3 separate regions of the Homo sapiens genome follow, and regions 2 and 3 are each linked to region 1. Evidence: promoter capture Hi-C in 16 types of primary human blood cells and fetal thymus (Javierre and others, 2016). All regions are on one chromosome and are shown on one strand. Each heading gives the region's core, a stretch centred on a gene start or on the middle of the fragment in contact. The rest is flanking DNA. Distances are from core to core; before and after follow the strand shown.

Evidence for each region. Contacts are between HindIII fragments. The CHiCAGO score rates a contact against its expected background, and 5 or more counts as called.
Region 2: a contact is called between a fragment that was not itself captured here and the fragment with the promoter of CHSY1 in region 1, in 3 of 17 cell types (M0 macrophages, M2 macrophages and endothelial precursors). The highest score is 7.5, in M0 macrophages.
Region 3: a fragment that was not itself captured here is called in contact with the fragment with the promoter of CHSY1 in region 1 in 3 of 17 cell types (M2 macrophages, M0 macrophages and endothelial precursors); the score reaches 6.4 in M2 macrophages.

Annotation. Positions count from the first base shown.
Region 1 is chr15:101,250,658-101,254,933 of GRCh38, forward strand. CHSY1 (chondroitin sulfate synthase 1) reads right to left here and starts at 1,391. Exons shown (of 3, transcript NM_014918.5): 1 at 480-1,391. The coding sequence starts at 799. RefSeq lists silencers at 376-805, 996-1,305, 1,476-1,855. The HindIII fragment of the contact is 7,881 bases long and covers 191-4,276 here.
Region 2 is chr15:100,984,995-100,989,542 of GRCh38, forward strand. It overlaps LRRK1 (leucine rich repeat kinase 1), which reads left to right. Exons shown (of 34, transcript NM_024652.6): 5 at 3,640-3,819; 6 at 4,256-4,404. Among named protein-coding and RNA genes, the nearest start is that of LRRK1, 68 kb to the left of the region's middle. The HindIII fragment of the contact is 704 bases long and covers 1,846-2,549 here.
Region 3 is chr15:100,969,034-100,973,374 of GRCh38, forward strand. The region is part of intron 2 of LRRK1 (leucine rich repeat kinase 1); the gene reads left to right. Among named protein-coding and RNA genes, the nearest start is that of LRRK1, 52 kb to the left of the region's middle. RefSeq lists an enhancer at 4,154-4,243. The HindIII fragment of the contact is 3,416 bases long and covers 396-3,811 here.

The sequences.
Region 1 (4,276 bases), core at 141-2,640:
AAATGTGAGAGTATGATGTGGAAAGGTTCTAGAACTAGATTAACGTACACGGGCTCCAGCTTTGCAAGGACAAAGGTGCACATTTTAGGGAATCCAGTATCAGCCCCAACTGCCTCCACTATCAGGTACTGTGCTATGAGTTTTCCAACATTATGAGGGAGACCCGATCTGTCGGGCCCTTCTAACGAGAAGCTTCGATTTGCAAAGGCTAAAGTGCCTTCATCAGGGTGAGAGGTACACCCAGCGAGGCCACACTAGTCCATCTGACCCCAAAGGCCATGTTCCTGAGCGCCGCGCTCACCATCCCGCCTCTGATCTTTTCTCCCTCGGCCCGGCGTCTCCCGAGAGGCAACCCGATCCCGCCGGAAGCCCAAGAAGGGCCTAGGAAGCGGGCGGAGGCGAGAGCCAGGAGAGCACCCGGGATGCCGGCCGCCGGGATGCCGGACGCAGGAGGCGGTGCCCGGGGAGCAGGGGCTCACCTGTAGGCGGCCACGGCCCGAGTCTGCAGGTATTTCTGGGCGGTCATGACTCCCACGAAGAGAAAGTTCCTGTCGCGCGGGCCGCCATCTGGGTCCGAGCCGGGCGGCCAGAGCTGCGCCCCGCGCGCATCGCCGCGCGCCCCGCCGGCCTGGGAAGCCGCCGCCTGCCCGGACCGGCAGCCCTCGGGGCTGGCGCGGCGCCGTGGGCCCGCTCGCTTCAGCTCGGAAGCCCGGGGCAGGACGAGCCGCGAGGCCAGCACGAAGCCCAGGACGAGCCCGAGCAGCACGCTGAGCCAGGCGCGCCGGCCGCGCGCGGCCATGCCCGCGCCGCTCCGCCCGCCGGGCCGCCGCCGCAGGCTCCGCGCGCCCTCAGCCCGCTGCCCCCGCCCGCGGAGGCCAGCCCGCCCTAGCGCCGCGAGGCCCGGCCCGGGCAGCGCCGCCGCCGCCGCGGGCCCGCCGCGCCCATCGCGGCCCCCGAGCCGCCCGCAGGCCCCGCGCCGGCGCTTTGTTCCGCACGCCCGCCCCCGCCGCCGCGGCCTGCGCCTTTAAGAGGGGACCATGCCCGGCGCGCGCTAGCGGCGGCTCGGGCGCGAGGTGGCGGCGGCTCCTCCCGCTCGCGCGCGGGGACGCGGGGCCGGCACGACGGCGACGACGGCGGCGGCAGACGAGTCCGGGCTCCCGTCCCGCCCTGCCCGCGTCCTCCGGCTGGCTGGGCTCGGTTCGCACGGCGCCTGTCCCCGTCCTCTTCGTAGCCGGCGCCGCCGCCGCAGCTGCACATCCTCCGGCTTAGCTCGCCATTGCAACAGGAGCCCCTCACGTCACGCACGGCGCGTTATGAAGTGGCCCCGCCGGCGGCGAGCCGTGGCCCCTCTCGGGATCCGTCCGCGCCGCGCGATTGGCGCAAAAGTGAATGAGGGGCGGTTCACGTGGCCGAAGTTTGACCAAAAAAAAAAAAAGCCCTCTCGGGCGCCCCGCCCGCGCGGTCTGCGACTGGAGCTGGCGGGCGGAGGGGGCGTGGGCCCCCGCCCGGCGCCCGCGGGGCCGGAGCTGCCCGTGATCCGCACCTAGCACCCGGCGCAAGGGCGTCCCCGCGAGGACGGCCGCTTCCCGCACCGCGGCGCCCGGGCGCGAATCTCGGGAGCCAGCCTTGCAGTGGGGGCTTCTCGGCCCCCAGACTCCACGCTGCGCACGTTCCTCCCGCACGGGCCGTCCTCGCTGCACCCCACGGCCACGCCCTTCCTGCCGCCGGGCCGGCCCCGCGCTCCCGGCCCCGCGCTCCCGACCACACTGCAGCTTTGTCCGCAGTCCCGCGGCCGCACGCAGGGAACAGCCGTCCCGGAGCCCTGGGGACGTGCGCGCCTGCGAGTGGACCGTGAATTCAGTTACCTTGTTCCCTGTTGCTAGTTTCTACGCTAAATAAGAAGAAGAAGAAGAAAAAGCCATCTTTAATACTTAAGGTCCACGCTTCTCATACAGTACTAGCATTTAATGGATCTCGAAGACAAGGAAAATGAAGTTAATGCCCTGGATGGTAAACCCTACTTTCATTTACATACTGTGTGGGCAGATAGCCGGCTAGTACCCCCAGCCTGGGACTTTGTCCCTACTTTAATATAGTCCGTCTGTAAAAGTGCCGTGGATTTCTAAAGACGGATTTTGGGTCCCAGATCCTCTACTCTGGATTTTAAGTTTTATACATTTCCTCTGCAATACTTCAGCTAAGGCAGCAAAAGCGGAGGTCTCCATACAACGAAAGTTTGTGTAGAGTTTCAGTCTTGTTACTTAGTCACCAGTATATTGGGGTTTTCTAATGAAACTTTTGAAGGGCAAAGTGTTTCCCTGGGCCTGAGAAGTTACCTGCATTGAATCAAATAAACACATGCCTGGGGCAATCCTTGGATCTTTCTTCATTGTTGACCAAATGGTTGAAATACTATCACACAGTTTAAAATGCCTGTGGGAGCTTCAGATACCTTCTCGGCACCTGAATGGTGGTCACTCTTGTTTATTCTTTGGATATTACCACTTTCTTTGACACTTGTGATTTATATTAAAAATAGTTCATTACCTACCTTCCCACAGAGCCCCTCCCTAAGGGGTGATCCACATCTAAAAATAAAATACTCATTATGCAGTGAATACAGGATTCCAGCAGTGGTCTTGGGAAAAATACAGAACATACAACCATGAATTACAGGCTCGAAAACCATCGAAAAAGGTTTCCACTAAGACCATAAACCACAAATGCCGAGGAGTCACCAGATCCCCCAAATTCAGCAGCCCCATCATTCACAGTGATTTACATGAAGTACGAATCTGGCCAGATTCAGATGTTCAATTTTGTAGCATATTCAACGATTTCAGTATTTTCTAACCTGCTTTAGACTTACCTAGTTTTCTTCGAAACTAGTGTCCAGTGAAAAGCTGGCCGGGCGCGGTGGCTCACGCCTGTAAACCCAGCACTCTGGGAGGCTGAGGCGGGCGGATCGCCTGAGGTCAGGAGTTCGAGACCAACCTGACCAACATGGAGAAACCCCGACTCTACTAAAAATACAAAATTAGCCGGGGGTGGTGGTGCATGCCTGTAATCCCAGCTACTCGGGAGGCTGAGGCAGGAGAATCGCTTGAACCCGGGAGGTGGAGGTTGCTGTGAGCCGAGATCGTGCCATTGCATTGCACTGCAGCCTGGGCGACAACAGCGAAACTCCGTCTCAAGGAAAAAAAAAAAAAAAGTATATAAATATCTGATGGGAATAATATTCTGAGGATGCCAAATATTTTGTCCTCCTCAATATCCTGGTTCCTAGTTGTCCCTCAGTTCCTAGGTTAACAGTCTCACCTGTCTCACCTGCAGGCTTAATGGGGGTCTTTCGTAATGTAGAAAGGATACCCTTTTCTTTGTAAAGGCTGAGCCTGAGGGCTTACAATTCCCTGGAGAAGGAGAGTAAGACATACGGGAACTCCCTCTGGGAGAAGAGGGATATGCCAGGCCAAGAGAGGGTTGGAAGGAGAAGAGAGAAACTGAGGTCCTGTAGAAGTCTGCCAGGGGCAGGGACCAATTCCGGCATGCAGCCTAGGAGCAGGAGGGCAAGCTCTAGCACATCTGGAAGGAGCAGCTGGATTGTTGAGCTGAGGCAGTTCTCCTGGGGAAGAATCCAAAAGTGTCCCAGTAAGGGGCCTGGCTCAGGAGACAAGGCTATCCTAAGTGGGGATTTCACAGCCAGTAGCAAATACCTGGAATCAAGAACTTCAGTGACAGCCAGAGACCCAAACAGCTGGACAGGACTGGTACCCCCAGTATGAAGGCCTGTCCCATGCCCAGCCCCACTAGTCAATACCAGCAAGGAGCCAGGGAGGACAACGAGGGTCTGGAACATCTGCCCCCAATGCACACACATGCGTCCTTCCCCACAGCCCCCTGGAGGCCAAGGCTGTCCTCATCCTAAAGCCCCCTCACCCTAAGTAATTTTTAAAGGTAAGGAGTAGGCAGGGTGATTCGCATTTATAGGGATTTCACTGCAGGGAGCTGAGGAAAGACTTTTCATGTTCCGGGCTTCTTGATTTCACTGTGCTACTGGCCTTCTCTGTTGAGGGAATCATTGACCATTTTTCTCATCATAAAAGAAGGGGAGGTATTAACTGTTACCAGGAACACTTGTAAGGAAGCCCTTAACTGTAGTTATTCCATGAAAGTCCCAATGGCACAGGAGTGGCCCAAGAGGTGGGCTGTGATGGATCAGGGATCAGGAGTGTGGGACCGAGTCTGAGCTCTGCGTGGAGTGAGTTCCACCTGGAGG
Region 2 (4,548 bases), core at 948-3,447, 260 kb before region 1:
GTTTCATGATTTTTAAACAAGAAGCCCCATTCTTTTCATTTTGCATTGGGCCTCACCCCTTATATAGTGGTCTTGTTTGAGGGTTTCCAGCTGTGGGCTTTGATAGATCTGTGCTCAGCGTTGGTTCCAAGCTAGTGTTCCCCTCATGTGTCTGAACAGAATGAGGTTATGGGCAGAAATCAGGGCAATTTTAGGGCCCATGAGAAGCATACTAAGACAAGACATAGGAGGGCAGAGAGGAGCTTGGGTGCTCCTGAGGAGCCAAAGGCTGACCTGCCTCTTCTCGGGGAGCCCCAAGATTAGCTCTGTTCTAGCCCTGAAGAGTCTGCACCAGCTGACTCCGTCACCTAATGTTAGCTAATATTTATTGAATACTGTCAAGTGCTGAAAACTGTGTAGAACGTGAGAGACAGATAATTTTTTTAAAGATTTTCCCAGCCATTTAGTACCTCCTGGCCAAGCAGGGGAAATTGAGGCAGAAAGGAGTAACACTGTGCAATGTAACTACACTGAGGTTGAAGTATTTTTACGCAGAGGTCTGGGAGCACACATCAGGGGGCAGGGTAGGGTCTCCGAAGGGAGGCTGACATCTGACCTGGGCTTTGCAGAGTGAATAGGAGTTTACTTGGCAGACAAGTGAAGGAAGGACTTGGGTTGCCTGCTTTTGCAGAGCAGGAAGTGTGGCTGAACCTCGTCATGGTTTTCAACTGCTCCCAGGAGCATCGTATCTTCAGCTCAACTCTGAGCAAAGCTGCTGAGGACTGAAGGATTTCAGACCATTGTGGTGGGCTTTGCAGAAAGTGCAGAGATGGGCAAAACAGTGTGTACCCATCCCTGCACTTCCTGCAAAGGAGTTCCCAAGCTGGAAGGGAAGTCAGCCATGGTCAGGAGTAAGTCAAGACAAGAAGACAAACAAGAGTCAGGCTGGACATGCTGGCTCATGCCTGTAATCCCAACAATTTGGGAGGCCAAGGCAAGAGGATCACTTGAGCCCAGGATTTCATGACCAGCCTGGGTAACATAGTGAGACCCTGTATCTACAAAAAAAAAAAAAAATTTAAATTAACCAGGCATGGTGGCACATGCCTATATTCCCAGGTACTTGGGAGGGTGAAGTGGGAGAATGGCTTAAGCCCAGGAGTCCAAGGCTGCAGTCAGCTATGATCACATTACTGCACTCCAGGCTGAGATAGAAGGAGACCCTGTCTCAAACAAAAAACAAAAACAAGAAGCAGCTAGAGAACAAAGGAGGGTTTGAGAAGAAGAGGGATGAGAGGTTGATGGGATGCATTCTTTGAAGCACGTTGTTATGTGATTCCTGGTCTCTGAAGCTGAGCAGGGAGGAAGAGGGGCTCCTCTGAGTGTCGTTGGCCTTAGGCTGTAGAGAGTACCTGTAGGGGTTTTGTGTGGTTAAGAGAGCACCCTTTGATTTTAGACAAAGCAAGGTTTAAGTCTTGACCTTGCTATTTACTAACTGTGGGACCTTCAAGAAGTTTCCCTGCCAGGTGTGTCCCACAGACCCTGGCTGATGGATGAAATGAGTACTCAGACACAGGTGTACGGTGTAAGAGCAGCTGAGTCACTGCCTGGCTCTGTTGGCCAGAGAGCAGCCCGAAGAAGCTAGAGCTGCTTGCTTTCATTCAGTGCAGGCACAATGCCGAAAACCTGGAGCCAACACAACCTGTAGGTAATTAACATTTATTGTTCCCCTTTCAGGGAACATCAAGCCAGCAGATGATCAAAGGTCAGTTCCTGGTCAACATAAGTAAACAAGCCTGTTTAAGATACATTCCCCTACACTCCTTGCCCTCTGCCTTCAGCTGTTCTCCCCCAGGGCTCTGCAGAAGCTTCCAAACTTTCAGAAGGTTTGTGTCCTTTCCCTGTAGTTTTTCCTACGACTCTGACCAATCTCCTACATTTCCAAACCTCTCTGAGCTTTGGTTTCCTCATCTTAAAATCATGGTCCTGAAATATAATGCCTGCCTCCAAAGACTGACACATCCCCATCTCAACAGAAGTTACTAGCATGGTTACTGTGTTTCTCTTACCCAGATATTCTTGTGTAAGTGGATTAGGGGTCACTTATTTTCTGTTAACATACCTACAAATCATTAATTCTGGTTAACAGTAGAGGGAGAAGAAGGGATATTTACTTGGCACTGGCTCCAGCCTCAGCCCTATGCTACATGCTTTATTTGGTGAATACAGGGCCATCCTGACCCCGGTTTCCTGATCAATGTCCTGTCGCGAAGGAGAGAGTCACTCTCTCCTCACTTGGGAGCACTTTGATCCCTAGGACTATGTGCCTCTGGAAATGAGGCAGTGTTATGATGCATTTGGGAAGTGTCCCTGCAGAAGATGAGGTCATTTTTCCATGGCAACTAGACCCAAAAGATATTGCACTATTTTGAACTTGAAGATATTGTAACATTTCAGCCCACACTGCCCCCGTCAATTCAATGTGCTAAGTGTTATTTCATCCTGGAATTAAGTAGGTGGTTCTACTGGGGAGAAATTGTCACTTTTAGGCCTGACAGATCTTTCACCAAAGCTTTTATTATTATTATTCATGAAAGTAATATATGTATATTATAGATAATTTTAAAATGTGGGAAAGTGTCAGTACTTTAATAATACAATGACACAACATCATGAGTTAGGGTTTATTGATCCAGGCACTTGACATGCATTTTGTGATGTAGTCCTCACATTAAACTTGGAAGAATGAGTATTATTATTCCGATTTTACCAACAGGCAAACTGAAACAGAGAGAGATTAAGAAATGTGTCCAAAATTACATACTAAATTATTTTATTTCTAAAATGCCTGTCTCCAAAGTTCATACTCCTGCATGTAATGTTACCCTAGGGGAGGGGTGAGGGCAGGGGAGAGCCCAGAGAAAATACCACAATGCTGGGGTAGTTGTTTCTAGTCTTATTTCCACACACCCATTTTTTATTTGGCTAAGATCATGCTGGATACGCCATTTTTAATCCTCCATTTCATCACTCGGCATTATCTGACAAGCAGGTGGGTGACTGATGTGGGGAAATGTCATATGCAATTCAGAGAGACTATTCCAGAAAACACTATCAACTCAACAGAAGCAACTTTCAGCTGGAAACAGGACAGCTGGGTTTTGTTTTGTTTTGTTTAACTTTTACTTTAGGTTCAGGGGTACATATGCAGGTTTGTTACGTGGGTAAACTGCATGTTGCCGGGGTTCGGTATGCAGATTATTTCGTCACCTGGGTAATAAGCATGGGACTCAATAGGTAATTTTTTAACCTTCCCCCTTTTCCCTCCCTCCACCATCAAGTAGTCCCCAGTGTCTATTGTTCCCTTCTTTGTGTCCACGTGCATTCAATGTTTAGCTCCCCCTTATAAGTGATAACATGCAGTATTTGGTTTTCTGTTGTTGCGTTAGTTCACTTAGGATAATGACCTCCAGCTCCATCCATGATGCTGCAAAGTACATGATCTCATTCTTTTTTATGGCTGTATAGTATTCCATGGTGCAAATGTACCACATTTTATTTAACCAGTCCATTGCTACTAGCGGTCTAAGGGAAGAGCAGAGTGGGAACAAACAGCACCCTTCAGTGGCACTTTCCCTTTGTCCTGCCATCTCCTGCCAGGTCCCTGCAGTCCCCAGCGGCTTCTGAACTGGATGCTGGCCTTGGCTTGCCAGCGAGGGCACCTGGGGGTTGTGAAGCTCCTGGTCCTGACGCACGGGGCTGACCCGGAGAGCTACGCTGTCAGGAAGAATGAGTTCCCTGTCATCGTGCGCTTGCCCCTGTATGCGGCCATCAAGTCAGGTGGGTTTCCCCACTACCCTGAGTCAACCCTGACCGTGCAAACCATCTCAGCCTCCAGATGTGGGACTGTGTCTTTATTCTCACTCTTGGCTCTCAAATCACCTCTGTGAGGAGACTTTTGCAACTCCTGTTCTATGTTTCTTTTTCAAAATATCTGCACCCTTCCTCATTTCCTCCTTACTTGCCCCCGCAAGGGGATTTCAGTGACAGAGACTGACTGTGGCTAATGGGACTGTTGTACGAGGCACTCCAAAGGGCAAAGCCCCACAGAAATTCTCCCACTAACAGAAACTTGATGCACCAAGGGAAGTAAATAGAGAAGTCCAACATGCACAAGTACCTTTTCAGTTTCCATTCCACATATCAGAGTCTGCCCTTCCAACGACTGTGACACTAGCATCTGCATGCCCTTAGCTTTTTGGTTTTGTTCCTTTAGGGAATGAAGACATTGCAATATTCCTGCTTCGGCATGGGGCCTATTTCTGTTCCTACATCTTGCTGGATAGTCCTGACCCCAGCAAACATCTGCTGAGAAAGTACTTCATTGAAGCCAGTCCCTTGCCCAGCAGTTATCCGGGAAAAACAGTGAGTAGTCACTGCCTGTGGAGTGTGTTTTAGTTCCTTTTGTGCTGCTGTAACAGAATCCTGCAGACTGGGTAATTTATAATAAACAGAAATATATTTGGCTTACAGGTCTGGAGATTGAGAAGTCCAAGAGCATAGTGCTGG
Region 3 (4,341 bases), core at 854-3,353, 280 kb before region 1:
GTCTACTTGTTTCCCAGACTGGTCTCAAACTCCTAGGCTCAATGGATACACCCACCTTGGCCTTCCAAATTGCTGGGATTACAGGTGTGAGCCACCAGGTCCAGCCTGCTCATTTTCAATTGGATTGTTTGTCTTTTTATTATGGAGTTATACGAGTTTTTATATTCTAGATACCATTTATTTTCAGATATGTTTTGAAAATACGTTATTGTAGTCTATAATTTGCCTATTTAACTTTAAATGGGGTCTTTTGAGGGGCAGAAGTTTTAAATTTTGATGAAGCCTAATTTAGCAATTTTTCCTTTCCTGGTTATTGTTTTCTGTGTCCCATGTAAGAAAGTAAGTAAAGACTTACTCTCAAGTCATGAAGATAATCTCCGCTATGTTTTCCTAGAAGCTTCATAGTTTTAGCCTTTATGTTTAGGTCCATGATTCATCTCAGTTATTTTTTCTTTTTTTTCAAGTTTTTTTTTCAAGTTCAGGGGTACATGAGCAGGATGTGCTTGTTTGTTACATAGGTAAACATGTGCCATGGGGATTTACTGCACAGATCATCCCATCAGCCAGGTATTAAGCCCAGCATCCATTAGCTATTCTTCCTTATGCTCTTTCCCCACCCTCCCTCACCACAGGTGCCCAGTGTGTGTTGTTCCCCTCTTGTTTCCATGTATTCTCATTGGTCAGCTCCCACTTATAAGTGAGAACATGTGGTATTTGGTTTTCTGTTCCTGTGTTAGCTTGCTGAGGATAATGGCTTCCAACTCCATCCATGTCCCTGCAAAGTGATAATCTTATTCCTTTTTATGGCTGCATAGTATTCTATGGTGTATATATGTATCATATTTTCTCTGCTTTTTTCTTCTTTTTTTTTTGAGACAGAGTTTTGCTCTTGTTGACTAGGCTGAAGTGCAGTGGTGCTACCTCAGCTCACTGCAACCTCTGCCTCCCAGGTTCAAGCGATTCTCCTGCCTCAGCCTTCATAATAGCTGAGATTACAGGTGCCCACCACCACGCTGGGCTAATTTTTTGTATTTTTAGTAGAGACGGGGTTTCACCATGTTGGCCTGGCTGGTCTCGTACTCCTGGCCTCAGGTGATCCACCTGCCTTGGCCTCCCAAAGTGCTGGGATTATAGGCATGGGCCACCGCATGAGCCACCGCACCCAGCCACCACATTTTCTTTATCCGGTCCATCACTGATGGGCATTTGGGTTGATTCCATGACTTTGCTATTGTAAATAGTGCTGTAATGAACATGTGTGTGCCATCTCAAGATGATATTTGTATATGGTGAGAAGTAGGGGTCAGGGCTGCTTTTTATTAAATGAGGGTGTCCAGTTGTTCCAGCACTTTTTACTGAAAAGACTTTGCTTTTCCCATTGTACTGCTTTGGCTCCCTTGTCAAAAATCAATTGAATGTACAAGCACAGGTCTATTTTTCAACCCTCTGTTCTGTCCCTTGGAGCCATTTGTCTATACCAGTACCATACTGTCTTGATTACTATAGCTTTGTAGTTTGTTTTTTGGAAGGATAATGGCTTCCAACTCCATCCTTTCCAAGTCTTGAAATCAGGTAGTGTACATTCTCCAACTCTCTTCTTTTTCAAGATTGCTTTGGCTATTCTAGGTCTTTCAAATTTCCATATAAATTTAAGAATCAGACTGTCAATTTCTATCCCGCAAAAATGACCCTATTGGAATCATAGTTGGGATTATTGAATCTATAGATAAAATCAAAGAGAATTAACATCTTAACAGTACTGATTCTTCCAATCCTTGAAGATGGATGTCTTCCCACTTATTTAGGTCTTGTTCAATTTCTCTCAGCAATGTTTTATGTTTTCAGCGTACAGATCTTGCCCATCTTTTGTTACATTTTTTTCTAAGAATGTAATTTTATACTATCATAAACTATTTTTTCAATTTTTCAATGTTAACTGCTATTATGTGATTCATTTTTGTGAGGTGTATGTTTGTGAGCCAACCGTGCTATGCATTTACATTTAAAAAGAAAAACAAGGCCAGGCGCAGCGGCTCACGCCTGTAATCCCAGCACTCTGTGAGGCTGAGGTGGGTGGATCACTTGAGGTCGAGAGTTTGAGACCAGCCTGGCCAACATGGTGAAACCCCATCTCTACTAAAAATACAAAAATTAGCTGGACTTGGTGGCGTGCACCTGTAATCCCAGCTACTCAGGAGGTTGAGGCATGAGAATCACTTGAACCCGGGAGGTGGAGATTGCAGTGAGCCGAGATCGCGCCACTGCACACCAGCCTTGGAAGCAGAGTGAAACTGTGTCTCAAAAAAAAAAAAAAAGAAAAGAAAAAGAAAAAGAAAAAAGAAGAAGAAAATCAATCCAAAGCCTGTCTTATTCATCCTTTCAGAGAGGCAGCACAAAGATGGGTTGGGTTTAGCTTGAGAGCTGGGAGACCAAACTTCTGTCCCAGTTTGCCTCTACTGGCTGCGTGAACTTGGCCAAGGATGATAGTGTTGAAGTCAAAATAAAAATGTAGAGGTGAATTTTTATTTTTATTTTTTATTTGTACACATTTGTGGGGTGTATGTGACATTTTGTTATGTGTATATAGTATGTGGTGATCCAGTCAGGGCATTTAGGGTGTCCATCACCTGAATACAGTACATTTTTGTTAACTATAGTCACCCTACTCTGCTATCAAACATTGAATTTATTCCTTCTTACTGTATGCTTGTACCCTTTAACCCACTTCTGTTCGTCCTCCCTGCTCCGACACTCACCCTTCTCAGTCTCTGTTAGCTGTTTTTCCCATTTTTCCAGTCTTTGCCTCCATGGGATCAAATTTTTAGCTCCCACAAATAAGTGAGAACATGGAATGTTTGTCTTTTTGTGCCTGCTTATTTCACTCAAGATAATGACCTCCAGTTCCATCCCTGGCTGTTGCAAATGACAAAAGAATTTTTTTTTTTTTTAGACAGAGTTTCGCTCTGTCACCCAGGCTGGAGTGCAGTGGTGCGATCTCAGCTCACTGCTACCTCAGGCTCCTGGGTTCAAGTGATCCTCGTGCCTCAGCCACCTGAGTAGCTGGGATTACAGGCGCGTGCCACCACACCCGGCTAATTTTTGTGTCTTCAGTAGAGACGGGGTTTCACCATGTTGGCCAGGCTGGTCTCGAACTCCTGACCTCAAGTAATCTGCCTGCCTCGGACTCCCAAAGTGCTGGGATTACAGGCATAAGCCACCACACCCAGCCTCAAAAGGATTTTAAAATCTAATGTTTTCTTGGGATATAAGAATTGTAATTTGGGATATATATATATATATATGAGAGAGAGAGAGAGAGAGAGAGAGAGAGTGTGTGTGTGTGTGTGTGTGTGTGTGTGTGTGTGTGTGTTTTGGTATGTTTGAAGAATAAAGAGAAGGTTGGCAGTTTTGTAATAAAAAGGAGAAATGTTATGTGTGTTTTTCAAGAAAACTTATTAGTATTAGCAAGGTTTTGGAGAGTTGGCAAGTTATGATGGGTGAGTGACAGTTGTGGGTAAAGCTAGTTTTAAAGTCGTTTTAGTAGTTATTAGATAAAACTGGTTTTAGTTGTGGTAGGCATTTTTAGTAGTCGGACTTGTAGAGAATCATGTTTTTGGAGTCATGTTATATGCCCCGAGTGCTTTTTCTTCTTGGCTTCTCAGCTCCGTTTTAGTTGGGTGTAAAAACAATAACCCAATTTGCTTGGTCACCTTTCACAACAGTATTCTTTCCCTATTTCTGCTATCACTCCACACAGTCAGAATTCAACTGCTCATCCATCGCAGTCTTTCCGTAATACCTATGGAGAGAAAGCTTTTTACTGTTGTTCCCTAACCTCTTTGGAAATCTGGTAGAAGCTTTGAATTTTGTCCTCGAAAAACTGTACACACACACACACACACACCCAGTTTTGTGTACAATTTTAGGGTGTTCAGGGAACTTCGGAAGCCTGTCAGCCTTTCGGGGTCCACAGGCCCTCACTGTGAACCCCTTCTAGAGTGGAAGCTCGGGGAGGGCGAGAGGCCGCCTTCCTTTCCCTCGGCTCCTCCTGCACCCAGCGAGGGCTCGGCCTGCCGTGGCCGCCCCGTGAGTGACCGCCGCTTTTGCTGAACGGCCCGGGCGCTGGGTCGCGGCCTCCCGCAAGGCTGGCCTCTCCTCCCGAGTGGCAGCAGGTGCTCGGATGACCGGGAGCAGCCCACGCTCTGGTGAAGCAGCGCGACCCGAGGCCCGGTGTCGTCCCCCATCGTTACGCAGCGCGTTCGTGCCAGGGCAGGTCTGGAGTGAGGGCGGCTGATTTAAATCCCACGCCCTTCGTGGGGTTTTCTGGGCAGGGCGGGAAAG